Regions from separate parts of the Homo sapiens genome. Here all the other regions are linked to region 1. The links are contacts of gene promoters, found by promoter capture Hi-C in blood cells and fetal thymus (Javierre and others, 2016). All regions are on one chromosome and are shown on one strand. The core of a region is centred on a gene start or on the middle of the fragment in contact, and the rest is flanking DNA. Distances in the headings are between cores, read along the strand shown. Region 1 holds the start of GAN (gigaxonin). Region 2 overlaps PLCG2 (phospholipase C gamma 2). Region 3 overlaps PLCG2 (phospholipase C gamma 2). Region 4 overlaps LOC105369213 (a long non-coding RNA gene). Region 5 overlaps LOC105369213 (a long non-coding RNA gene). Region 6 overlaps CMIP (c-Maf inducing protein). Region 7 holds the start of LOC100129617 (a long non-coding RNA gene).

Region 1 (3,716 bases), core at 796-3,295:
GGCGTTTGTAATCCCAGCTACTCGGGAGGCTGAGGCAGGAGAATCGCTTGAAACTGGAAGGCGGAGGTTGCAGTGGGCCGAGATCACGCCACTGCACTCTAGCCTGGGCTAAAGAGTGAAACTCAGTCTCGAAAAACAAAACAAAACACCACGACCTCATTGAGGTCACACTGTGGTTGGGAAAGACCACCAAAGTAAATGTGTAAAATATGGGGTACGTCAAAGTGGTAAGTGCTATGGAGAAAAACGAACAAGGATAACAAGCAAGGATTCGGCAATTTGCAATTTACTTCTTTTAAGCCAAACGGATGCCATTTAAAGAACTATAACAATAATGCATCTAAAGTAGTTTTCTTCAGCATTTTCCCAAACAGGGAAGACTTTGGTCTGCTGACTCCAATTTGGGATGGGTTGCTCAAACCTCGGAACTGCCAGCTAGAAGCTGTCTGTCACATTAGCAATCCAAATTCTGTACTAACGATGCTACCCCAGACCCTACTGCCGCCCCGCCCCCCCACCCCTCCACACTCCCCACCGCCAAAGAGCGCAAATGGATTCACAAAACAAATCCAAGAGAAACCAGAAGTTACAAGGGCACTTGAATTTCTTCTAAGTTTAGCACAGATATCTCCCCAATGCAAAGGTTAAAAGTGTAGCGTGCGTGGTGGTTTTGCTGGGACAAAGCGCTAAGAATACACATCATTTTGCTTTTTCTGACCTGTCAATTGTAGTGATATTCTCTACCACTAGCTTATATTTAACCAGCTTACTGGTCAGTTTCTCCAGTTTTTAGCATTCCCCCCTTTCCTTTTATTAAAACAGCAACCTAGTTTGCAAGAAGGTTGCTAAAAGAAAAGATAGTCTCCTGCAAGATCTGATACACTTGTATAAGCACTGTCTTATCAACCTTTTAATTAACCTGGTTAGTTGAGTTGGCAAATCAGGTTAAGCTTTGCTTTACTAAAGTATTAAAATGCCCTTTGTCGCAAGGCTCTCACGGTCCTCGGGTTGTAACAGCATCCTGAGAATTCGCTACAGTTTACTTCAACGTGTAACTCCTCTTTTAAACAGTTACCAGAATGGAGCGGAAAAGACACGTTTGGCAAGGAGAATTTCGCCCGGAGGTTCGGACTACCAACCCAAGGAGAACATCGAGAGGGTTTTCTCTGCCTGCACCCAGCGAGGCGCTGTCTGTCTGGCCTCCCAGCGGGCAGGGCGCTCCCCGCCTGGTTGGCGGCGCCGGCCCAGCCCCCGCGCGTGGATTCAGAGGCGAGCGACTGGCGAACTTCAGCGGGGACCGCGGGCCCGGCCTGGGCGAGGGGGTGACTCTTCCCCGGCGCGGCCTCGCCCAGCCCGCAGGTGCGGGTCCCGGCCGGCCCAGGACGGCGTCTGGGGGCCTCAGGGTCTCCGAGGTCGGGCGCTCGCCGCGGCGGTGGGAACCGGGAGGGACAAGGCGGGGGATCGCGGCCCGGGTCCGGGGACAACTCCAAGGGGCGCGGGGGTCCAGTGGGGAGCGCGGGCCTGGAAGCCACAGAGGCCGCCTGGGGGACGCGGTCAGCGGGGCCGGGTTCCGGCGCTTGCCGGGAGGGACGCCGCGCCAACGGTGACGCGGGGACCCCGGCGCCGGGGACAGGGGACAGGGTCTGGGGGCCACGCCCGGCCCGGCCGCCCCGCCTCCGGCTCCGGGCAGCACCGCCGCGCCCGCCCGCCGTAGCCCCCTCCCCACCTGATGTACGGGCTGGCCGCCGCCAGGATGTTCTTCTGCACCGGGATCTCCTCCCCGTCGAGGACCAGGTGCGCGTCGCAGAAGCGAGACTCCTCGCGGAAAGAGCTGAGCGCTCGCAGCAGACGCGCGGCGTGCTGAGGGTCAGACACGGCACTGCCCTCAGCCATCGCGGCGCCCGCTCCTCTGCCGACGGGTCCGGCTCCCGACACCGTCCGGCCGGACCCCTCGAGCGGCCCGAGTCCTGCGCGCGCGCCCGCCCGGCCCGGCTCTCCGCGCTCTGAGCAGAAGCTGGAGCCCCCGGGACGTGCCTGTGCTATCCGCGGCGCGCTGGGCCGGCGCCTTTAAGAAGCCGCGTCATGAAGTCATTTCTCCGCGACGCCCCCGCACCGTCGCTCCCCGCCTTCTCGCCTCCGCTGCTGGAGATGGCCAATCAGAAGCCTCCTTCCTCCGCCCGCCTGACCAGCTGCGGCTGGGTGCAGCGGAAGGTGTCTACGGATGAGATAGGTCGCTCCCGCGATGGAGGGATGTGCGGGCGGGCTAGGATTCCGTGGTTAAGCCTGTGGCCTCTGGAGCCGCGAGTTTGAATCCTGGTTGCAGCTGTTCCACTTACTAGCTCTGTGGCCATGGGTAAGGTGCCCATCCTCAGTTTCTCCGTCTGCAAAATGAAAGCGAATTCTTAGTGTTGTTGTGGACTCATGAGATGATGCATGGAAGCAAGGGCGAAGTCGCTGTAGCTTTCTTTATTTATGAGAGAAAAGGAGCTGCCCAGGTGAGAGGACAAAAACCCGAGAAAACAGACCCGGAAAAGATGGTTTTGGTTGCGGGCTAGGAAGGAGATGTAGCAGATGAAGCTGGAGAAGTCCGAAGGAGGCCTTAAATTTTGCAGGGCCTCCTTGGTGTGGGAAGGAGTTTGGTTTCTGCAGTGGTGAAGAACCATGGAAGTACCGTATTTAGCAGGGGATTTTGTGCAGGTCACTCAGCTCCTGCGTGGAGAATAAGGCGGGGATGGATGTGCTAAAGGCAGATCGATGCTTAGGTATTGCAGGACTAGAGAGAAGGGAATGGGCACCTGGATGAAAGGGTGATGCGGGGGCGGGGGTAGACAATAGTGGATTGTTTTAAAAGAAATTGTGAGGGAGAGGGAGTTAAGGATAAATATTCTGTTTGAGTAACTGCATGCATGTTTGCACCTTTCAGGGAGAGCTAGGAAATGCTGAAGGGGTGGGCAGTAGAGAGGCAGATGTTTAGATTCAGACAGGCTCCCAACCCAGTGAAGATCAAAGCTGTGATAGAAAGGATCGCTGGGTCAGCTCAGCTGGCAGGCCAAGCCCCACGGTATCTGAAGTTTCCCTGGAGGTTGCTCAGGGCACATGGGAGTGTGGAATGTAGCAACCATTTTGTGCAAACGTTAGGGACTCCATAAGCCTCTAAAAAATTAGCAATTGTATGAGGACTCCGGACCAGAAGAATGTGGCTAGCATTCCAGGCAAGACAGGATGGAATTTTCACTGTCCTTCAACCAACTGAAAGGCTCCAATAAAGTCTTGGGTATTTACCCTGAACCAGCCAAGGCTTTGGAGTCACTGGCAGGAATCCGAGTATCTAACTGTTTTCAGGGCAGAATAGATGGGGAGGGTACGGCTGTGGAAGACACATGCATTTCCACTTTCTTCTGTAAATGCAGCTCAGTGTTCCCGGATGCAATGATAAAGATGTCTAGGATTTGCTTCAAAACAAAACAAAGGGATGGGGAAGCAGATGGGAGTGTAGATGAGTCAAAAGTGGCCGCAAGTTACTAATTGTTAAAGCCACGTAATGGGGATGTGGAGATTCGTTGTACTGTCTCTATATTGTTGTGGATGTTTAATGGGGATGTGGAGATTCATTGTACTGTTTCTATATTTTTGTGGATGTTGAAAAATATTTTCTTCTTTCTTTTTTTTTTTTGAGATGGAGTCTCCCTCTATTGCCCAGGCTGGAGTGCAGTTGT
Region 2 (3,716 bases), core at 473-2,972, 500 kb before region 1:
GTCTACCTGGTATGTGCTAGTCATCATGCATGACACAGGAACAATGAATGGAACAAACAGCCCCCTTTCAAAGAGCTGACAGTCTGAGAAAGAGAGACATTAAATGCCCACATAAATATAAATAACCACCATATGACAATGCTCCCAAAGAGAAGAGCACGATGGAATGAGAGACTAATGGGATGTCCTCCAGAGGGGCAGGAAGTGAGGAGCTGACTGAGCCACAGACTTGATCAGGCAGAAAGGACCTCACCAGTGAGGAAACTGAGGCACAGAGGGCCGAAGCAATCCTAACGGGAGTAAGAGCTTAACACACTAGCTGGCTGAATACTCACGAGAGCCCTGTAAAGTAGGTGTTGTAATTCTCACTTCACAGATCAGGGGACACGAGCCGACAGAGAGGAAGTGACCGAGCCCAGGCCACATGAAAGGAAGGAACAGAGAGTAGATGACAACCAGGTCTCTCTAATCTTGCCCCTTCCCTCCCAGAATCTGTCTTCTCCTTTGGGTCTTTGCTCTCAACCCCAAGTGTTCACTTAACCCCCTTCTCCCCGAAACAGTAAGGAACGTGAGAACATGTTCATAAGCACAGGGAGCTTGTCTCATTTTTGCCTACCCTGGCCTGGGCCTGACATGTAATAACTTATCAATAAATGTGTTAAGTGAAAGAATCACAACCGAGTGCAGGGGCTTATGCCTGTAACCCCAGCTCTCTGAGAGGCCAAGGGCATGGGGGTCGCTTGAGTCTGGGAGTTTTAGACCAGCCTGGGCAACACAGTGAGACCCTATCTCTACTTGAAATTTTAAAAATAAATAGATAAAATAAAATAATCACAAGGTACCCTCTGATGTTCTACATACATCTTTGTCATCTTCTGGAAGGCCAGGTGCAGTTTGAGGGCTCTTGTTTTATCACTTGTGTTTACTGAAGCTGTAGCAACACCAAACACAGCTGACAAAAGGCGTTTAAAACCACCCTAGTGCCTTGCGCAGCACCCCTCAAGACGATGCACTCCAGCGTGCGCAACAAAAGCGAAACTCCTTCTCAAAAATAATAATAGTAATATCAACATCTAAAACAGCTTTCTGTTTTTAGTGGAAGATAGGTGCTTCACACGCACTAATTCATTTTACCTTCACAACTGCCTCACGGCACAGGTACTAATATTATTCCCATTTTATACATGGGGGATGGATGCATAGTCCTTCTCCACCTAGAGGATTCTTCCCATCGGATCTCGGCCTAAATATCAGCTCCTCAGAGAGGCCTTTTCTGACCACCCATCATGTGCGCTCTTCCTGTCCCTTGTGCTGACTTCGCTTGTAAAGAGAGGGCTTTGTCTTCACCTCCCTGTTTACCATCCGTCTCTCCCCACCAGCCTTCAAAACTCACAAGAAGGACACTGTGATGGTTGTGCCTCTATTTCCCCAGCATCTAACGCATCCAGTGCCCGTCACCTTCTGGGCAATAAATGGGTAACTGTGCAATGGGCATAGGAAAAAAAGCCCAGCTCAGAGAAGACTCTAGACCAGCTAGAAAGAGGCAGAACCGGATGTGGCCCCAGGTGCCTGAGTGTTTTCCCACTAATGATAACAGCGCAACCGCACTTTCAGTTCTTGCTTCTGGACATCAGGACCTTGGGAGTAAGTCATAATTTCTGGCTGGGCACCGTGGCTAATGCCTGTAATCCCAGCATTTTGGGAGGCTGAAATGCGAGGACTGCTTTAGCCCAGGAGTTTAAGACCAGCCTAGACAACATAGTGAGATCCCACCTCTACTAAAAAAAAAAAAAAAAAAAAAAAAAAAAAATTAAAATTAGCTGGGCATGGTGGTGCATGCCTGTAGTCCCAGCTACTTGTGAGGCTGAGGGAGGAGGATCATTTGAGCCCAGGAGGTCAAGGCAGTAGTTGAGCTGTGATTGCACCATGGCACTCCAACCTGGGCAACAGAATGAGACCGTGTCTCAAAAAAAAAAAATTATAATGAGGGAAAAGGTCTCCTTCTCAGACTTGCCAGGTCACCCTTTTCATGGTCCCAAAATAGGATATGCCAGATAGTTCAGTATCTGAAGCCTAATTTATTTGTTTTTTGAGACAGGGCCTTACTCTGTTGCCCAGGCTGGAGTGTAGTGGCACGATTTGGACTCACTGTAACTTCCATCTCCCAGGTTCAAGCAATTCTCCCACCTCTGCCTCCCAAGTAGCTGGGATTACAGGCATGTGCTGCCACACCCAGCTAATTTTTATATTTTTAGTAGAGGCAGAGTTTCACCATATTGGCCAGGCTGGTCTCGAACTCCTGACCTCAAGTGATCCTCCTGCCTCAGCCTCCCAAAGTGCTGGGATTACCGGCATAAGCCATCGTGCCTGTCCGTGAAGGCACATTTTTTTTTTTTTTTAAAGATGAAGTCATGCTCTGTCACCCAGGCTGAAGTGCAGTGGCACAATCTCGGCTCACCGCAACCTCCACCTCCCGGGTTCAAGCAATTCTCTTGCCTCAGCCTCCTGAGTAGCCAGGATTACAGGCGCAAGTCACCATGCCTGGCTAATTTTTGTATTTTTAGTAAAAAACGGGGTTTCACAATGTTGGCCGGGCTGGTCTCGAACTCCTGACCTCAAGTGATCCGCCCACCTTGGCCTCCCAAAGTGCTGGGATTACAGGCGTGAGCCACTGTGTCTGGTCATTTAAGACTGCTCAATTATAGCGCACTTAAGACCTACAAAGGTTTCCACCAAGAAGACCGCGAGAATCGAAGAAGCCACCACCTGCATGGGAACTGGAAAAAATCAGGCAGGATTTTCCCATGCTCAGACTCCCAGCAGCTGAAGAGGGACTTGTGTTCTGAGTGGCTTTTGAGCCCCCATGGCCTCTGAAAGGGCCAGGAGAACTTCAGAACAACAGGCTGAGTAGTCAACAGAGCCCAGGCAGGGCAGGCTGAAGAAGAAAACAGCCCCCAACCATGGCAGTGTTAAAGATGCAAATGAGGAAGCCTCTAGGGGGTGGTCTCTCAGCCCCTGCAGTTTCCCGCTGGAAAGACAGGGTCCCTGGGATACACTCTAAGACTGTATCTTCACCTCTGGGAATCAGAGGCTCAGCTACACAGAAGGATCTCACTGTGTTGTGTGGCTGCCAACCTGCTGAGGCTGAGACCCCTTGGTGAGGACTGGGAGACCCATGCTCTAGCCTGGGCCCACCAGGGAGAGCTGGGAACCCCCTCCCTTCACTGTCCAGTAAGGCCCCATATGCAATAAAACCTCCTCCCTTCGCATAACCACCCTCTGCATGAAGAGGCGTTCCAGAGCGTCATATCACAGGTGCTTCATTTTAAGCCTAAATTCCCCAATTATCATTCCTTCCATAACTCAGGAAAAAAAGGAAATGTTTAAAAGTTAACTTCAGCAACTCTGGTTTTGCCTTGGAAGATTTGTCAGGCTGGAACAGCCACTGGAACAAGCAGTCCTGATAATAATAAAAGTAACTTCTTATCGCCACCATCTCCAGCAGCTGACGTTTAGTCAGCACTTACTCTAGACAAACCCTGTGCTACAAACCTAATGTGTATTGGCTCATTTAATCTTTATCCCAACTCTATGGGGAGAGGATCATCATAATCCCCACTGCAGAGACAAAGAAACTAAGGTTCAGAGAGGTTAACTCCCTGTGGTCACACAGCAAGGGAACAGTGAGACAGGACAAAAGCCTTGGGTCCTTGCTC
Region 3 (3,716 bases), core at 510-3,009, 470 kb before region 1:
CCTGACCTGCTAGGGTCAATTCTCAGATGCAGAGCCAGAAGGATCCTTTTAGAACATGAATCAAATCATGTCACTCCTCTGCTCAAAATCCCTTAGTCCCTCCCTGAGCCCTCACTCTGTACCATTCCCTCATTCTGCCTCCCAAATCCCCAGAAACACATTGCCTGCCCCCAAAATAGGACTTAGAGTGAAGGCGCTCCCCAGGCCCTGGAGCTGAACCACCAGGGACCCCCTTGCCAGCTAGGCTGCAAGAAGTCACTTAGATCCTCTGGGCTCATTTCCAGTCCCATAAAAGAAGGTAACAGTATCCACCATCTAAATGTTTTTGTAAGGCTTAAACAAGATAATGTATCTCAGGCCCTTAAAACAATGATACAAAGTCAGCACTCCTTAGATTAAGCTATTGTTAAAATTACCATTATTTGTTCTGTTTCTTATCTCCTCCTTTCCCTCCAAGTCCCTGGAGGTGCCTGGAGTTGTTACTCTGTAGCTCTCAAGGTTACAGAGTAGCACTAGAGAGACCCTCCCAGGATCCAAAGAAGGAGGAGTGAGAGGCTGGTGTTCAGCCAGGGCTGTCTGTGCTTCCAGCCGGGCTCAGCCTTCTGCCAAGCTGCTCTAAATCTGTGGCTCGGTTCCCTCATCTGTAAAATGGAGGTTAAATGCCCACAAGGGGCAGCTGGGAAGACAAAAAGCTACAATGTATGCACAGCCTGCAGCATTTACCAGGGTCTCAGTTAGCATTAATCAGCCATTGGGGAAGGCATTAATCAAATGTCAACTCTATGCCAGGCACTGAGGTGGGGACTAGGATGCAAATGAGGGGAATGGGGAGGGGCCCAGGATTTGCCCTTTGCCCCCACCTCCCTCTACTGCACACCCATACCAAAGGGACCTCCTCGGTCAGCCATGCCAGCAGCAGGAGATAATTACACCTGCTCTCTGCCCATGGGGAAACAGACTAATCAACTGAGAATTCTAATGTAGTTACAAGTGCAGCAGCAGAAGCATGCACTGGGGGCACGGCGGGCAGAGAGCAGCAAGAAGGAATCCTAAATTTAATCTGGAGTGTGGCTAGGCACTTAAAGGGCTCAGAAAAAGCTTTCAGGGGAAAAAAGCAGGCATCTGAACTCAATCTTTCAAAAAAGATGAAGCAGGAGGAACTGGCTTTAAGTTTAAGCAAAGGCTAGGAGGCAGAACAGAGTATGCTAAAAAAAAACCCTGCTGAGAGTTAATGTGCATCTTACCTTATCAGGAGAAACCCAAAATGACCTCCTGATCATTAGCCAGGACAAAGGGATGAACAAGGTGCCCCCATGGTCCATTTCATCCTTGTTAAGCAGCCATTTATTGGGCCCTTCCCCAGGTGCCAAGCACCTGTTGTGTCTGGTTCGTCTCATTTATCTCAATGGGAAATACGGCAGCGGAAAACTGAAATCCCAAGAGGTCACATTACTTGATCAAAGTCATGTAGACCAGCAGCAGCACAAAGATCAAAACCCTCACCTGAGTCCCAAGCCCCTAGTCCAGAATCCTGTGGCAGCATCTGGCCAGATATTAACTGATTTGCCAGTACTTGCCACTCTCAAAAGAGGTTAAGGGACTTATCCGAGGTCACACAGATAGAAAGTAGCAAAACGAGTTAATGGGTGCAGCACACCAACATGGCACGTGTATATATATGTAACAAACCTGCACGTTGTGCACATGTACCCTAAAACTTAAAGCATAATAATAATATAATAATAAAATTTTAAAAAAGTAGCTGAAACTGGATTTGACCCAGCTGCCAACCACAGAGCTCTTCACTATGTTGACTGTTCCCAGCCATGCATCCTGGAGTTCCCCACTCCCAGGTCTCTAGGCCATAGTCCACTGGAACATAAGTAGGAAACACAAGCCCCATTATAACACCTTCAATTAGACAGAAACCAGGACAAGGGACCAGGCTCCTCAGTTCTTTCCAGCCCTCACTCTGGGAGGGCCTTGGACTTAACCTTCCCCAGGGTCCCAGTTACTTCCAGCTTCGAAGCCCAGTGGATCAACTCAGCCATAAACACCAGACTTCCATGCTGCGTCTCACCAATTGCTTTGTAATAGCTGCTCACAGGTTGCCCTAAAGGAGCAGGGGTGGAATTTACACTCTCACCTGCAGTGGCTGACACCGTTCCTTTGAAAACACTGTATCCCCTCTGATGCTGCAGGGTGGGTGTAAGGTGCAGCAGTAATGTCCATTCAACTGTTGGAGGGGCCCTTACCACTCAAGTATTTGCCTGTGCCCCATTTTAACAGAATCGTTTTGTGGGATTTTGGATGAAATCCTGTACTGGCTTAACATGCACAGAGCACTGAAGAGAAAAACTTCCTTGATTTCTGGTTTGGGGTTCTTGTATCTCACGAAATGCCCTTCTAAATAAGCTTGTGAGATACAAGAACATGAATGAGCTTATGAGATGCAATTGGAAACAGATCTTCACGGCCAAAAGATCCCTGGAGTCCACCATTCAAATCCTGCCAGCACCCAGCTCAGGTCTCCAGCGTTCCACGCTTTATCAACTATGGCAGGGAGGTCTCCAAGACCTTGAGCCCAGGAGAGAGCACCAGCCACCACAGCAACTTCCATTTTGCTTCTGCTTTTTTTGGTTTTTTCAAAAAAAGAAAAAAAAAAGCCTTGAAATCCCTTTTTTGTTCCTGTTTCCCATTCTTAATGGGTAATTCTATAAAATGACTTATTTTGTAAATACAAATATGGCTGAGTTTGAATAACTGATTTTTGCCATTTTTACATTTCATGTCCTTCTAAAGGTTTTTCTTGTATCTCATAAGCTCATTCATGTTCTTGTATCTCATAAGCTTATTTAGAAAGGCATAAAATGGGCCAGGCACGGTGGCTTATGACTGTAATTCCAGCACTTTGGGAGGCCGAGGTGGGCGGATCATGAGGTCAGGAGATCAAGACCATCCTGGCTAACACGATGAAACCCCGTCTCTACTAAAAAAAAATACAAAACAATTAGCCGGGTGTGGTGGCACATGCCTGTAATCCCAGCTACTCGTGAGGCTGAGGCAGGAGAAAGGCGTGAACCCGGGAGGCGGAGCTTGCAGTGAGCCGAGATCGCGCCACTGCACTCCAGCCTGGGCGACAGAGCAAGACTCCGTCTCGGGGGCGGGCGGGGGGGGGGGGGGAAAGGACATGAAATGAGATGCGAGGACCCAAAACCAGAAATCAAGGAAGTTTTTGTCTCTTCAGTGCTCTGTGCATGGTAAGCCAGTACAGGATTTCATCCAAAAATCCCACAAGACAATTGTGTTAAAATGGAGCACAGGCAAATACTTGAGTGGTAAGGGCCCCTCCAACAGTTCAAGGGACATTACTGCTGCACCTTACACCCACCCTGCAGCATTAGAGGGAATACACTATTTTCAAAGGAATGGTGTCAGCCACTGCAAGTGAGAGTGTAAATTCCACCCCTGCTCCTTTAGGGCAACCTGTGAGCAGCTACTAAAAAGCAAAACACGCATATGCTTCGATCCTGCAATTGTACATGTAAAGAAAGACATGCACAAAGATGCAATATGTACGACAGAAAATCACGGAAGCAATAGTTGCAATAGAAATACAAAAAAAGAAAAAAAAACAGAAAACAACTGCTCATCAATGTGGGGGGCCTCCTGGATAAATAATGGTGCACATGCACTGAAGAACGCTCAGTAGCCAT
Region 4 (3,716 bases), core at 414-2,913, 450 kb before region 1:
TGGGGTGATCACGGTTCACTGCGGCCTTCACCTCTAGGCTAAACCAATGCTCCCACCTCAGCCTCCCGAGTAGCTGGGACCACAGGTGCACACTACTATGCCCGGCTAATTTTTTATATTTTTTGTAGAGACAGGGTCTCAGTTTTGTCCAGGCTGGTCTCGAACTCCTGAGCTCAAGTGATCTGCCCACTTAGGCCTCCCAAAGTACTGGGATTACGGGATTGAACCACCACACCCAGCCTCATCAATTTAGGATGTACCCTAATGCAGTATGACCACATATTAACTTGATTACATCTGCAAAGACCCTCTTTCCAAATACAGCTATGTTCTGAGGTTCCAGCTGGACATAAATTTGGGGGACACTGTTCAACCTGGTCCACAAGGTAATAAAAAAGATGGAGAAAATTAGGCTTGCCAAAGTCCTCTGACACAGCTGGGATGGCCAGTGTTCAGCCTGTGGCTGAAAGACAACTGCATGGGCTGGAGGGTGAGACCTGCACGGGGCACGCTTGGCCAGTGATCAGTGTCGCAAAAGTGTCTTTGAGGAGAGTGAATCTATTCAGATGCCAGCTGTGGGCAATTGCACTTTCCAAAGACACATCCCCTGATTCTTCCTCCATCCCACATGCTCTTCTACACTGTCACATTGACATTCGTCCATGGAGAGATGGGGTCCAGGTTTCCTTTCCTTGAATCTGCCAGATCTTTGTAACTTTTCACTTTTTATTACTTATTTATTTATTTATTTTGAGACAGGATCTCACTCTGTCCCCCAGGGTGCAGTACAGTGGCTCAATCAATCACAGCTTACTCCAGCCTCGACCTCCTGGGCTCCAGCAATCCTCCCACTCAGCCTCCGGAGTAGCTAGGGATACAGGCTCACACCATCACACCTGGCTAATTTTTTAAATTTTTTATAGAAATGGGGTCTCACCATGTTACCCAGGCTGGTCTCGAACTCCTGGGCTTAAGCAATCCTCCTGCCTCAGCCTCCCAAAGTGCTGGGATTACAGGCTTGAACCACTGCACCCAGCCTCAGAACTTCGTAACTATTTTTTGTTTGTTTTTGTTTTTGTTTTTTGAGACAGAGTCTCTCTGTCGCCCAGGCTGGAGTGCAGTGGCAAAATCTTGGCTCACTGAAACCTCCGACTCCTGGGTTCAAGCGACTCTCATGCCTCAGCCTCCCGAGTAGCTGAGATTACAAGTGCCTGCCACCACGCCCAGCTAATTTTTCTATTTTTAGTAGAGATGGGGTTTCACCATGTTGGCCAGGCTGGTCTCGAACTCCAGACCTCAGGTGATCCACCCACCTCAGCCTCCCAAAGTGCTGGGATTACAGGCATGAGCCACCACACCCGGCCCCCTTTGTAACTTTTTATAGCTGCCTCAATAGAATGTAGTAAAAGGGACAATGTGTGACAGCTTCTGCCTGGCTTGAGGCACACAACTTAGGAGCCCCAAGATGACGTTAGAAGACCAGCTACCCTGACCTCACCATGCTGGAGAGGTGCCCGGGGAGCCTCACCTGTAAAGTTCACCTCTGCTCACATCTTCCCAGCCCAGGCACAGGCCGTGAGAGGGAGGACACCTTGGAGATGGCCCCAGCCCAAGTTGGCATCCACCTGCAGCTGGACAAGAGACCTTGCAGAGAGCTGGAACTTCCCAGCCACTCCCAAATACCCGACCCACAGAAACCATGAGAAAATCTGAGTTATTGTTGCTTTAGGCCACTGCATTTTGGAGTCATCTGTTATGCAGCAATGGATGACTGATACAGGGAGATTATTTTGCTGAGTGGAGCTTGCAAATCTGGGCTACAGCAGAATCATCTGCGGCAGTGGAGGAGAGGCTGGGTTCTCCCATCTGGAACTTTCCTTCTTTGCCTTCTGTAAGGCCTCTTCTTCAGTCTCCTCTAAATCAAATCTGAGCAAGCAAGTATTTTTATCTTTTGTATTTTATCTTATTTTTTGTTGATTTAATTATTTTTAAGAGACAGGGTCTCACTCTGTTGCCCAGGCTAGAATACAGTGGCATGATCATATCTCACTGCAGCCTTTAACTCCTGGGCTTAAGGGATCCTCCTGCCTCAGTCTCCTGAGTAGCTGGGACTACAGGCATGTGCTACCATTCCCGCTAATTAAAAATTTGTTTGTAGAGGTGAGGTTTCACTATGTTGCTGAGGCTGATCTTAAACTCCTGGCCTCAAGTGATCCTCCTGCCTTGGCCACCCAAAACCTTGGGATTAGCAAGTATTTTTAATGCCCATTTGAAGGGGCTCTGCCTGATCAGCCAGCCTTGGGGACTTGGGGGGATATTGCAGTGGTGTATTCTTTTGCTCAGGCTTTTCCCATTGTCAGGAAGTCCCTTGGCCTGCCTTTTCACTCTCCCCTCAACCTAATGATTCTGTTTCATCTATAGGACTCTGTTCCTTATGTTAAAGGAAAATACAGACAATTTTATACACTTTTTTTTTTTTTGAGACGGAGTCTCACTCTATTGCCCAGGCTGGAATGCAGTGATGCAATCTTGGCTCACTGTAACCTCCACCTACCAGGATCAAGCGATTCTCATGCCTCAGCCTCCCGAGTACCTGGGACTATAGGAGCATGCCATCACACCAGGCTAATTTTTGTGTTTTTAGTAGAGACAGGATATTCCCATGTTGGCCAGGCTGGTCTTGAACTCCTGACCTCAGGTGATCCGCCTACCTTGACCTCCCAAAGTGCTGGGATTACAGGCGTGAGCCACCATGCCCAGACCATTTTAACAGTTGACAGTTTCTTTTTAAAAAAATAATAGCAACATATGTATGCATTTGCCATTACTTTGAAATGCATTAAAATTAACATGCATTAATAATTGGAAAGAGGCATAGACAGATGTGACAAAGCAAACAGAGTAAATGTTCAGGGGCCATGCGTGGTGGCTCATGCCTGTAATCTGAGCACTTTGGGAGGACGAGGTACACAGGTCACCTGAGGTCAGGAGTTCCAGACAACCCTAGCCACCACATAGGGAAACCCCATCTCTACTAAAAAATACAAAAAGTAGCTGGGCGTGGTGGTGCATGCCTGTAGTCCCAACTACTTGGGAAACTGAGGCAGGAGAATCACTTGAACCTAGGAGGCAGAGGTTAGAGTGAGCCGAGATCACACCACTGCACTCCAGCCTGGGTGACAGAACAAGACTCCATGCGCAAAAAAAAAAAAAAAAAAATGTGCAGGGTGAAATCATAGGTAGTGACTAGATGGATGCTTGCTATACAACCCTTTTTACTTTTCTGTATGTTTTAAAATTTTTATAATAAAAGATTGGAAAAATGAGAAGAGCAAACAACTACATAGCAAATACAATGAGCTAGATATGGTTCTAAGCCTTATGTCTGTTAACTCATCCCATCCTCAGCCCAACCCATGAGGGGTGTTCTATTTTGATCCCCATTTTACAAAGGAGGAAACTGGGGCATAATGAAGTTCGAGCCATGGTCAAGTTTGAAAGGCTAGCCGAGGGAAAGACATATGACTCTAACCTAGGCAGTCAGCTCCCAGGCTGCTGCCCAAGCTTAACCATTACAACGCGTCACCTCTCACCCATGTACTGTGTTATAATCAGAAGAATTACACTTTCATAATTACAATACACTTACATTTAAGTATTATCATTACTATTATTATTACTTTAAAGACAAGGTCTGGCCCTGTTGCCCAGGCTGG
Region 5 (3,716 bases), core at 885-3,384, 430 kb before region 1:
CCCTGGTTCTGTGACATTATGTTGTCCCCAGAAGTGCACCCTTGTTCTTCCTCCTTTACACACTTGCTCCCTTCTAAAGAAAAAGGAAGGACGCACCTCTGAATGGGCTAGTCTCGCCCCTACAGAGAGTCAGGTCGTTCGCTGTATGACAGCCAGGAGGCTCAGGAATAACGTCTGGCCGCTGAACTCGGCCTCTGAATGGATAGCTGAAAGCAGAGGTTCCCAACTGGGACTTTGTTTAAACATACATGCCCATGCCCCTCCAGATCTGCTGAATCAGCCTGGGCCAAGCTCCCCCCTGACCCTAATGTCAGCCAAGGTCAGAACCTGAGATTTACAGGGAAAATGCGAAACATTGGCATTCTAGACCTAACCTACTTTTTCTTACAGAAGCTACCAGACTGCCCACCTTGAGAACAGTAAATCCACATAATTTATCTCTGTATCCCCAGGAGCCAACTACATGCAGCCCATAATAGGGAGCAGACTTGGGGTTGACATCCAGCTGGTAATTACCATATGGCCTGCAGTCTGTGGCCAGTGGCTATTAGTTAGTCAGGGTCCATGTTATCTCGGTTGTTAAATATGTTGAATGCAACCCTGAGTTATAGTCGTTGTTTGGATGAAACTGAGCAAAATTCAACTTGGGAAAGGCAGAGGATGGTCAAACATGAAGATTTTCAGTGACTACCCTAAGGGATATTGCAACTTACAGAAAAGAGAGGTTCCTGTGGCCACAGGTCATCCAAGAAGGCTTCCGGCAACTCTCCTTACCTCTCATGGGTCAGCACTAGGTCATATGCCCTTCCCGGCCAATCAGTGGGAGGGAGGCTAGGAATGCCACCACTGGCTTAGACCGATTAAGATTGAATCTTGGGCTGGGTTACCCAACACAACCTTTTCTAGTTCAGCCCTGCAGTGACCTGGATGCAAAACCCAGCCCCGTTGCTGGAGGTCATTTACAACCAGCACTTAATCATCTTATATTCTTTGCTGAATGTTTATGGAATCAACAGGAAAAAGGTTCCACTGCATAACATTATTTTTAAAGTCCAGGGTTGGAGTTAAGATGAGACACTTTGAATCCAGAAAAACCAACCCTTCTTCCTTTCCCCTTCCTTCCTGCAGCATCCAGCCTGTTGGCCCCCTTTTTCACCTCTCCAGATGCCCTAAAAAATTCCAATTCCTGGGCTGGGAGCAGTAGCTCATGTCTGTAATCCCAGCACTTTGGGAGGCTGAGGCGGAAGAATTGTTTGAGTCCAGGAGTTCAAGATCAGCCTGGGCAACATAGTGAGACTTTGCCTGTAAAAAAAAAATTAGCTGGGTATGGTGACCCATGCCTGTAGACCCAGCTACTCAAGAGGCTGAGGTAGGAGATCACTTGAGCCCAGGAGGTCAAGGCTGCAGAGAGCCATGGTCTGGGTGACAGAGCACGACTATCTTAAAAAAAACAAACTTGCCTCCTTATCATCCCCACCAGCTTCACCATCATGACTGCTATTTATGGAGTGCCAAAAGATTTGGAATTTTTTTGGTTACAAGTGAGAAGAAAAGTCACCTCAATCTGTTTTAATCAAAAAGGGAAGTTGGGGGACTGGGTGCGGTGGCTCACGCCTGTAATCCCAACACTTTGGGAGGGCAAGGCGGGCAGATCAAGAGGTCAGGAGATTGAGACCATCCTGGCTAATATGGTGAAACCCCGTCTCTACTAAAAATACAAAAATTAGCCAGGCTTGGTGGCGGGCACCTGTAATCCCAGCTACTTGGGAGGCTGAGGCAGAATGGCGTGAACCCAGGAGCCGGAGCTGACAGTGAGCCAAAATCACTCCACTGCACACCAGCCTGGTGACAGAGTGAGACTCCATCTCAAACAAAAAAAAAAAAAAAAAGGGAAGTTGGCTGGGCACGGTGGCTCACACCTGTAATCCCAGCACTTTGGGAGGCCGAGGCGGGTGGATTACGAGGTCAGGAGTTTGAGACCATCCTGGCCAACACAGTGAAACCCTGTCTTTACTAAAAATACAAAAAATTAGCTGGGTGCAGTGGCGGATGCCTGTAATCTCAGCTACTTGGGAGGCCGAGGCAGGAGAATTGCTTGAACCCAGGAGGTGGAGGTTGCAGTGAGCCAAGATCGTACCACTGCACTCCAGCCTGGATAACAGTGCAAGACTCTGTCTTAAAAAAAAAAAGAAAAAGAAAAAAAAGGAGGTTATCCCCTCATGTAACTGAAAACCAAGGGCCACAGTCACAGCTGGATCAAGGGGCTCCAACAATGTCATTGGGACTTAGTCTTTCTTCATCTCGCCACTCTCCCTCCCTTGGGATGGGCCTCACCTCCAGGCAGGCTGTCTCCCACAGGAGCCCTGCATAGCTGCAGCTTTCCTTTCTCCTGGCTTCACATCCACAAGAGAGAGGATCTCCTAACCCACCAGTTCCAATAAAAGCCCTAAGTCTGGTTCTCATCAGCTCAGGGTGCATGAGGTGCCCATTCCTGAGCCCAACCTCACCCCTTTCACTCCCCTCTGGCCACTGTGGCCTCTGGCTCCGGAAATGTCCCTCACTCCTTCCAGCCTCCTGGCTTTTGACCACGCAGGTCGCTCTACCTGGGCTCTTTGCCTGGGTGACCAGTGTTCCAGCAAGTCTGTGCCAGTCGGTCCAGTCAAGAGACAGAGCACACCGGTTCTTTTGTTTTGTTTTTGTTTTTGAGATAGGGTCTGTCTCTGTCATCCAGACTGGAAGGCCGTGGTGCTACTGTGGCTCACTGCAGCCTCAACCTCCCATGCTCGTGTGAACCTCCCACCTTAGCCTCGCTAGTAGCTGTGACTACAGGTGTGCACCACCATGCCCAGCTATCTTTTTCTTCCTTTCCTTTCCTTCCTTCCTTCTTTCCTTTCCTTTTCTGTCTTTTCTTTTTTTAGTAGAGACAGAGACTCACTATGTTGCCCAGGCTGGTCTCAAACTCCTGGGCTAAAGTGATCCCCCCACTTCAGCATCCCAAAGTGCTGGGACTACAGGCATGAGCCACCGAACCCAGCTAGACTGGTTCTTCTGTCGATAAAACATAATAGGTGAACTGTGAAGCAGGTATCGAGAACCAAAAAGATGAAATGGGACACTAAGTTATTGCAAGTTGATAATGACACAGAGCAGGCCCTCTTCACACGTCTGGAAGAACAAGAGGAGCGGGACCAATGATAAGAACTTCAAAGCTGGGAGGACGAGGGGCCCTGTGAAGCTGGGTCCCAGAACCTGAGGAAGTCTGGCCAGATGGGAAGTGAGGCTCCCGGCCCCTGTTCACTCCCGTCTCGTAGCACCTGGCTCTTTCCTTCATAGCACCCACCGTGGGGTAACAAATGATTATATGTGCTATCATCTGTCTTGAGTTCTCCCCACCAGCTCCCTGAAAGCAGTGGGATGCCTGTGGTCACTCCTGTCCACCCCAGTTCCCAGCACATACTAAGCGCTCCTGAAACCACTGTTGATGGAGTCATTTCTCAGGGGTAGTGCATGGGACGTTCCTTTCCTGGCTGGACTAAGACTCTGCCAAGTCATCTAAACCCTCCTTCACCCTGCATGGGGGCTGGGGCTCCAGGGAGATAGGCTGGGCCCCAGGAGTAGGATGGAAGATGGCAGTCACTCTTAGAGTCATACACAGGCAGGGTCATCACCTGTGAAGCAGCACCATCCTCAACTCTGCACCTGGAGCCCTCATTGGT
Region 6 (3,716 bases), core at 334-2,833, 390 kb before region 1:
GTAGGAGGTGGGCCCCGGCCAAGGGCTGCCGGGGGATTCCCTCTAAGTAGCTTCCAGAGCACGAAGGTGCCAGCGTGGCTCACGGGTGCCATCTGTGCCTTCTCACCTTTGAGCCCAGCCCTTCTCTCCCAGGATGCTGGCCCTCTGCCAGTCCCGCCCGCTCCTTCTGGGGCAGCTGGTACAGGCCCAGGAGGACGGGGTGACAGGAGGCGACTGAGGGCCTGGCTCCTCCAACCTTCCCAAGATGTGCACGTGTGTTTCTTAAAACGCCCCTGCCTTCCACCCTCCGATCCTTTTTCTTTCCCGGATTTCACTTGCTGGCCTAGTGCCGGTGCAGCGCAGCCCTCAGTGGTGAGGCACCAGCCCTGCTCAACCCTCCCTGCTTCTACTCCTGCTCCCTCTCAAAATATTTATTTCCTAACAGCCAGAGCATGCTTTGAAAAGCATGACTCGCTGCTCTGCTGTGACCTGTGAGGGCTTTTTCCATCCGGCCCCAGCCCATTCCCTCTCTCAGTTCCTGGTTACATTTGCTGCAAAGCCAGGCCTCGCCCATCTCTTCTGTCTCAGGACCTTGGCACTTGCTTTTCCTCTCGCCCTTGGTATTTCTGGCTTCTTATGTTTTGGGTCTCAGCTCCTGCGGCCTCTTCATCAAAGGCACCATCCCTGATCACCCCAGGCCACACAGGCCTTCCTATTTCCAATTACTTCCCTGCTGCTTCCTCTTTGTCACTCTTTTTGATCTGCCATTATTTTATGTATTGATCTGTAGATGTCATCATCCTTTACTGGAGAACGAGCTCTGTGCAGGAGATGCACCAGCATCCAGATGCTGGCTAGAAGAAGGAGGGGAGGAGAGTGGGGAGGAAGGAGGGAATTACCTTCAGATCTTCGTAGGTGTCAGCTGAGAGCTTGGTGCTGTTCATGTTTAAACTGCAGAGACTCTTCATGGCTGCACAAGAGACAGATACAGTTGTTAGGAGAGCGAGGCCCCAAAGGTATGAAGGTATGGGATGGCCAAGCTGGAGGAGCTCAATGCAGGTGCCAGGCCCCCTGTTAGGAGATGGGGCTGGGGAGGGAGGTTTCGTAGACACAGCCAGGGTAGGTGGCCCACTAGACACCGAAAGTCTATTTCAGGCACGTGCTGGTCTGAACAGAGCCTTCGTTTTCTTCCCACCCTCTGAGCCTCCCTCCCTTCTGGTCCCTCTGTCGTGTGCCCCCACTGCCTGGACCTGATGTCCCCAGAGCTTGCCTGCCACACCCCAGATCAGGCCCGAGGCCTCCCCACTAAGGGAACCCCGGATGGTCCCCCCGTCGTCATTGACTCGGTGCTGCTTCTTGAAAGCAAGCCTCAACCTCTGGTTTGTGTTGGAGTCGCACGGGGGGCAGACCCCTCCACCCACTCCCAGAGACGCTGAGCAGGGCCGCAGCAGGGACCAGGAATCTGTGCTGTTGATGAGGACCGCGCCCCCCCGGGGGACTCCAGTGGAAGCAGCGCATCTGCATTTGCAGCCAAACTGGCCGAGCGCTGCCGCTCTGCCTCCACTGACCCAGTCACCTGCTCCCACCTCCTCCCAAGCCACCCAGCATTTGCCAGCGGCCCGGTAGGAGTCATGGCCCCTGCTCAGGGTGCCTCCCCCTTGGCCAACTCCCACAAATCTGTCTTCACACCCAGACTCAACAGCACCTCCCCGGGAAGCCTTTTCTGACTCTTCCCACTGAGCCACGGGTCTTCCCGTCTAAAGCAGTGGGCCTGGAAAAGGGAAAGCTGGTCAAATACAGAATCCCGGGCTCAATATCCCTGAGGCTAGTTCAGTCACCTGGGGTTTGGCACACAGGAACTGGCCTTTCTAGGTTCCTTGAGAATTCTGTGCCTCCTTCTATTATGACAGGGCTTCTCAAATGTCAACGGGCACGGGAGCCTCCCAGGCATCTGCTTACCGTACGGTGTCTGAGTCAGGAGGTCTGGAGTGGGCTTGGGAATGTACATTTCTGACCAGCCCCCAGAAGACGCTGCCACCACTGGTCAGGGGACCACAGTGGCAATGTACTACAGCCCCGTCCTTGAACTCGACCCCTCAGTGGACTGTGAGTGTCAAGAGGCTATGGGCTGGCCTTACTCATTTTTTCTATTGCCTCTAGAATATAAGCTCTCTGAGGTTAGGGATATTTTTCCCTGTGTTGTTCCTGGCACATGGAATGGTGCCTGGTCCACAGCAGGTGTGCAGTGAACACGTTTGTGAATGAACGAATTTCTCTATCTGTGCATGGTGCAAAGTCAGTGCTTGGCCAGTTTGGCTGAAGCAAGGAAGGAATGAATCAAGCGGCCCCTCACCCCCCAGCTGCCCCGGAGGCACTCACAGCTCAGGGCCAGCAGGCCAGCGTCTGTGACCGGGGTCTCGCACAGGTTCAGCACCTGGAGCATGGTGAGGTGTTCCGACAGGAGCCGAAGGCCAGCGTCTCCAAACTGTAGAGCACAGAAACTCTCAGCCCTCTCCCGGCCACTCCTGGGGAAGTGACTCTGAGGCTGGGGCAGAGGTGGAGGAAAGGGATGGGGACAGAGCCTGGCTCTGAGGCCCATGGCCCACCAAGCCCTGGGGTCTGGGCTGCGTTCACGTCCCCTAAACAATCCCACGCCTCTCTGAACCGGGTTAGAATCCAGCTTCTGCTGTTGGGAGTGGAGCCAGGCCAGGGCCCCCTTGGAGTCAGTTTTGCCTCCATGAAGGAGGGCTTTGAACTTGTCTCTCCCTAGCTTCGAGATGCTGCCTAGGTGGCTTTCTCCTGCTGGGTGGACAGTGGAAGGACAGGGCTGGGCCGGGGGCAGGCTGCAGGGACTGTCCCCAGTTTCTCCTCTGGAAAATTAGGGTGAGGGTAGAACCTGCACTTCACAGGTGTGCAGTGAAGGCCCCTTCATCTGCCCTGTGCAGAGTACTGAGCAGTGCAGTTCACACTGAGCTGGGACTCAGCAGCCACTGGTGTTACTATAACAAAAAGACCCAGAAGCCTCCTGCGCAGCCCCCCGCAGGCCAGCGAAGCCTGGCTCACGTCTCAGCTCTACCTCTCAGAACCTCAGGACTCGGAACTGGGCACATTATTTCCAAATGGGAAATGGGCTGCAGGGCTTCATGAGGTCCTCAACCTCCTCTAGCCTCAGGGAGTGGGTGCTGAGCTTGAGGGAAGGGTCGTGTGGTAAGCAATGCCTGGGGTGTAGGCAGGGAAGCGGGTGAGGGGCAGGGAGGAGGGTGAGGGGGCAGGGAGGAGGGTGACGGGGGCAGGGAGGAGGATGAAGGGGTAGGGAGGAGGGTGAACGAGTTAGGGAGGAGGGTGAGGGGACAGGGAGGAGAGTAAGGGGGACAGGGAGGAGGGTGAGGGGGCAGGGAGGAGGGTGAGTGGGTGGGGGGGTGAGGGGGCAGGGAGGAGGGTGAGTGGGCAGGGAGGAGGGTGAGGGGAAAGAGAGGAGGGTGAGGGGGCAGGGAGGAGGGTGAGGGGGCAGGGAGGAGGGTAAGTGGGTAGGGGAGGGGGAGGGGGCAGGGAGGAGGGGGAGGGGGCAGGGAAGAGGGTGAGGGGAGCAGGGAGGAGGGTGAAGGGGCAGGGAGGAGAGTAAGGGGGGCAGGGAGGAGGGTGAGGGGGCAGGGAGGAGAGTAAGGGGGACAGGGAGGAGGGTGAGGGGGCAGGGAGGAGGGTGAGGGGAGCAGGGAGGAGGGTGAAGGGGCAGGGAG
Region 7 (3,716 bases), core at 749-3,248, 350 kb before region 1:
GTGGAACCCATTTTTTAAGGAGAGCAGCCTGCATCAGGACTTCAAGCTGTAGAACAGAAATAGAGACCCCCCTCAGGTCTAACTGACCCCGAAGCTGGCATGAAAGCTCTGAGTGGAACCCGTTCCTACCACTCCCTCCCGCAGGCTCCCAGGAGAGAGTTTCTAGAGCCGCTGGGGGCTTCTTCATGTGGAGTCAAAGGGGTCCTTTGTGAGAGACAGTGCAGGGGGAGCTTTCACTCGTCTGCCTGCTAGGACTGTCCTGCTACATAAAGAGGGAGGCAGAGCCCCCGGAGCAAGTTCAGAAAAATGCACGCACTGGCATGAGCACAAACACACACACACACACACACACACACACACACACACACACACTCTCTCTCTCTCTCTCTCTCTCTCTCTCTCTCTTTCTCTCCCTCCCTCCCTCCCTCCTGGGTTAGAAAATGAGGCCTCTGCCTCACAAGTATTTAATCTGGCTTTGGGCTGCCACGTCTGTCTCTGGGCCTCACTGACCCCACTATGGAATGAGGGTCCACAGAAGTGATCTCTAGCCCCCTTCCACCACGAGGGTTTTATGATTTTGTAAACTGCTTCAACAGAGACTTAAGGTAACTGTCATCTTAGCTATTAGATTTTTGAATAATCAAGGTCATTTCCATGGAAATAAACATTTACAGAGGGATCCAGCAGCCTCTGAAAAATACGCTCCCCTTGGAAAACTGGAGGTTAGGTTACTTGACGGTCCACTGGGGACCACAGCCGTGTCTTCTCGCCTCCTTTGCCACAAGAACACTCCGAGTGGCGTGGGGGCACAGAGATACATGGTCATTCTTCAGAACGCAGTTTGGCGAATTATTTGGACTGAATCTCCAGAGGAACATACTAAAGAACCGCTTCCTTTTGTTTCTAGTTTTTATTTCAGTCTAGTAAAGAACATTCTTTGAGACTCTCAAAGCTTCAGTTTGCTCATCCGTGAAAGGGAGCACATAACATATTTGCAAGAGATGCACCCAGAATGGGGGAGCCCCCAAATCCCAGAACAGCACCGTGGCTACGTTCCCCCCGTTTCCTAAATGTCTGAGTGCCTCCTTAAGGAGAAACACTGCATTTGGGGTGAAGAGCAGTCACTGTTCATGCCACCCCAACAGGCTCATGGCTTAGGCAGGCTAGGTACGCTCCTTAGCCAGAGACATGACCCCCCCCCCACACCAGCTGAGAGCCCCAGCTCCACAACGGTGCTGCTGACCCGTGCCACTCATTAAGCATCAGGGCGCATTCAGTGAGTAAATGTCAAAGCTCTCTCTCGCCCACCGCCTGTGTTGTTAGGATTCCATGAGGTCAGGTCTTCCTGTGCCTGGCATGGCCATAATCACTGTTTAATACAGTCTGTTCTTCTACACGAGAGGCGGATCCTCCTCGGTCCTCCCAGCAGTTCTCCTCTGCCGCCGCCGCTCATGGTGTGTAATTAGGAGGCGCCAAGAGCAAGGTGGGATCTGGGTGCGTTAAAGCATCCCCAGACACCTGGGATCACTTAGGGGGTACTCGTTACAAGTGAGGCGAGGACTCATGGCTGAGGGTCCCTACTCTCTGCCAGACTGCCACAGATACTATAAATTCTGGGTCTGCCCAGAGCGGTTCTGATTTTTATAGAGAAAATTAATACATGGTCAACACTCCAGGCCCATAAAACTAACCAAATACAAGAAAGGCGTTGTATGGTGAAGCCCCGAGAGCCTGTCTGAATTATGAATTTTTTCCCTTTGAAGTCAGATGTCCTCAAAGAACCCTTATGAAACGGTTTATTGACTAACATGGAGTATGCAAAAATGTTTATGTGCCTGAAGAGGCATTCCTCTGCCAAGTATGTCCCGGGGGTGTGGCTCTGCCATTGACAAGTTAAGGTCCTTCGCAAGAAAACCTGAAGAACCTTTGCTCTGAACTCCAGCATGGCACAGCCCACTCCATACACTACACCCGTAGTGATTTTAAAGTTAACAAACAGGGCACCTTTCCTTCTAGCTGGCCAAAGCCAGAAAGAGCTCCTCCTTGAAACTATGAGCGCCCAAATTAAGGCAGAAACCCCGCCCCATCCCCCAGTGGGGAGTCTCCTTGTCCTGGAGAAAGAACTGCACAGGGTGTCCCTATCCCCTGTGTTCTGAAAACAAGAAATGAATTTACCCCAAATCTAGGAGGGGCTCAGAAATCAGCAACAATTCATTTACAGTTTGCAATCGCTTAGGGTAGAGAATGGTACATAGCATTCATTATGGTACTAACACGATTTCAGTTGGTAGTGGTGGCCTGGAATGCAGGAGGGGAAAGAGTGTGATGCTGTCTCTGGCTCTACAGAAAGAGTGCTATAATTGATTAATGATGTCTGCCATGAGCATGGAAGGGGTAGAGGAGCACATGTGTCATGCACTTCCATTCCTGACTGGGGAAGGGGCTGTAGGTGATATACTATTCTTCAGGGGCATGGTGTGGAGACAGGCAAGCTACATCACAAGTGAAATGATGTGTGGTTACCCTTTTTCAGTTGTTTTCACGTGCTCCAGGAGACTCTAAAATCTAACGTGGTGGCTGGCTCAGTACAACATGTGATTGGGAATGGGCCCTGGCCTCAGGCTGCCTGCTCCTTAGCTCCCACCAGGACCACCCACAGCTGCTCATCAGACCCTGCCTATCCCGTCCCACCTCTCTGGGTCCCAGATTCCTCCTATGCACAGGTGTCATGGGAATGGCATGAGGGTTAATAACACAATACACTCAAAGAGCACCACACTCTTGACTCCAAGAAAGTGTTCAATAAGCATCTGCAAAAAGATGTTATTCTTATTCCTACCTGTGGTCCCTGTGGCCACTTAGTGGACCTAGCTAAGCCTCAGTTTCCTCGTGACATACAGGGCAAATAATGGCATTTGCTGCTGTCCCTGGAATGATGAGGGAACACCAAGGGGCCACACAGATTACAAGCGCCCCACCCGCTCTAAGTGTGCAATTAAATCCTGCTTTTGTATTTAAAAAAAAAAATTAAAGGCCAAGCTTTATTCAGATTTCCTCAGTTTTCCCTTCATGTCCCTTTTCTGTTCTGGGATCCCATGGAGAGCCCCAAATGACATTTAGTCGTTACGCCCCCGTAGACTCCTCTGAGCTGTGACAGTTTCTTAGAATCTCCTTGTTTTTGATGACCTTGACCGTGGGGAGTACTGGCCAGGTACTTTGTAGACTGTCCCCTTGTTGGGATTTGTCTGATGTTTTTCTCATGATTGGAATGGGGTGATGGGTTACTGGGAGGAAGACCATAGAGGTCAAGTGTCGTTTTTATACGTCCTATGAAGGGAATATTCTGTCTAACTGGCTTGTTGTTGTCGATGTTGACCTTGATCACCTGGCTGAGGCTGAGTGTGTCTGGTTTCTCCACTGCAAGGCTACTCCTGCCCCCTTCCATACAGTGCTCTCTGGAAGGACCTCGCTGTGCGCAGCACACACTAAAGGAGTGCAAAGTCGCGCTCTGGGTCCTTGAGGGCAGGGCATCTACAGACATTATTTGGGCCTATTCTTCCCGGGAGGCTTTCCTCTTCTCCTCCAGCTGCGGTATTTTTGTAATTCTTAGGAACTGCAAAAAGATTCTTCCTGTTGCCGTAATGGAGGACAAGCTGTACAAAACCCCCAAAAGTCCTTAACCAGAATCTCAACCCCAGTTCCTGGCTGTCACGCTG

What was found. Contacts are between HindIII fragments. The CHiCAGO score rates a contact against its expected background, and 5 or more counts as called.
Region 2: a contact is called between a fragment that was not itself captured here and the fragment with the promoter of GAN in region 1, in 1 of 17 cell types (neutrophils). The highest score is 6.2, in neutrophils.
Region 3: a fragment that was not itself captured here is called in contact with the fragment with the promoter of GAN in region 1 in 3 of 17 cell types (fetal thymus, neutrophils and monocytes); the score reaches 10.8 in fetal thymus.
Region 4: a fragment that was not itself captured here is called in contact with the fragment with the promoter of GAN in region 1 in 8 of 17 cell types (neutrophils, total CD8 T cells, naive CD8 T cells and 5 more); the score reaches 9.7 in neutrophils.
Region 5: a contact is called between a fragment that was not itself captured here and the fragment with the promoter of GAN in region 1, in 16 of 17 cell types (naive CD4 T cells, non-activated CD4 T cells, naive CD8 T cells and 13 more). The highest score is 34.1, in naive CD4 T cells.
Region 6: a fragment that was not itself captured here is called in contact with the fragment with the promoter of GAN in region 1 in 10 of 17 cell types (neutrophils, naive CD4 T cells, M1 macrophages and 7 more); the score reaches 10.5 in neutrophils.
Region 7: a fragment that was not itself captured here is called in contact with the fragment with the promoter of GAN in region 1 in 1 of 17 cell types (neutrophils); the score reaches 8.6 in neutrophils.

The regions. Positions count from the first base shown.
Region 1 is chr16:81,313,291-81,317,006 of GRCh38, reverse strand. It overlaps GAN (gigaxonin), which reads right to left and starts at 2,045. Exons shown (of 11, transcript NM_022041.4): 1 at 1,727-2,045. The coding sequence starts at 1,893. RefSeq lists silencers at 1,169-1,438, 1,459-1,518, 1,659-1,998 and an enhancer at 2,009-2,208. The HindIII fragment of the contact is 5,241 bases long and covers 953-3,716 here.
Region 2 is chr16:81,814,746-81,818,461 of GRCh38, reverse strand. All of the region lies in intron 2 of PLCG2 (phospholipase C gamma 2), which reads right to left. Among named protein-coding and RNA genes, the nearest start is that of PLCG2, 37 kb to the right of the region's middle. RefSeq lists enhancers at 1,062-1,111, 3,095-3,144. The HindIII fragment of the contact is 5,740 bases long and covers 1-3,716 here.
Region 3 is chr16:81,781,333-81,785,048 of GRCh38, reverse strand. All of the region lies in intron 1 of PLCG2 (phospholipase C gamma 2), which reads right to left. Among named protein-coding and RNA genes, the nearest start is that of PLCG2, 3.9 kb to the right of the region's middle. The HindIII fragment of the contact is 1,317 bases long and covers 1,101-2,417 here.
Region 4 is chr16:81,761,333-81,765,048 of GRCh38, reverse strand. The region is part of intron 3 of LOC105369213 (a long non-coding RNA gene); the gene reads right to left. It also overlaps a transcript of PLCG2 not described here. Among named protein-coding and RNA genes, the nearest start is that of PLCG2, 16 kb to the left of the region's middle. The HindIII fragment of the contact is 3,806 bases long and covers 1-3,566 here.
Region 5 is chr16:81,742,339-81,746,054 of GRCh38, reverse strand. The region is part of intron 2 of LOC105369213 (a long non-coding RNA gene); the gene reads right to left. It also overlaps a transcript of PLCG2 not described here. Among named protein-coding and RNA genes, the nearest start is that of PLCG2, 35 kb to the left of the region's middle. RefSeq lists an enhancer at 1-503. The HindIII fragment of the contact is 6,269 bases long and covers 1-3,716 here.
Region 6 is chr16:81,704,247-81,707,962 of GRCh38, reverse strand. It overlaps CMIP (c-Maf inducing protein), which reads right to left. Exons shown (of 21, transcript NM_198390.3): 19 at 2,359-2,464; 20 at 879-949. Among named protein-coding and RNA genes, the nearest start is that of PLCG2, 73 kb to the left of the region's middle. RefSeq lists an enhancer at 2,782-3,283. The HindIII fragment of the contact is 6,739 bases long and covers 1-3,716 here.
Region 7 is chr16:81,664,456-81,668,171 of GRCh38, reverse strand. All of the region lies in intron 7 of CMIP (c-Maf inducing protein), which reads right to left. It overlaps LOC100129617 (a long non-coding RNA gene), which reads right to left and starts at 2,818. Exons shown (of 1, transcript NR_045112.1): 1 at 896-2,818. The HindIII fragment of the contact is 2,087 bases long and covers 955-3,041 here.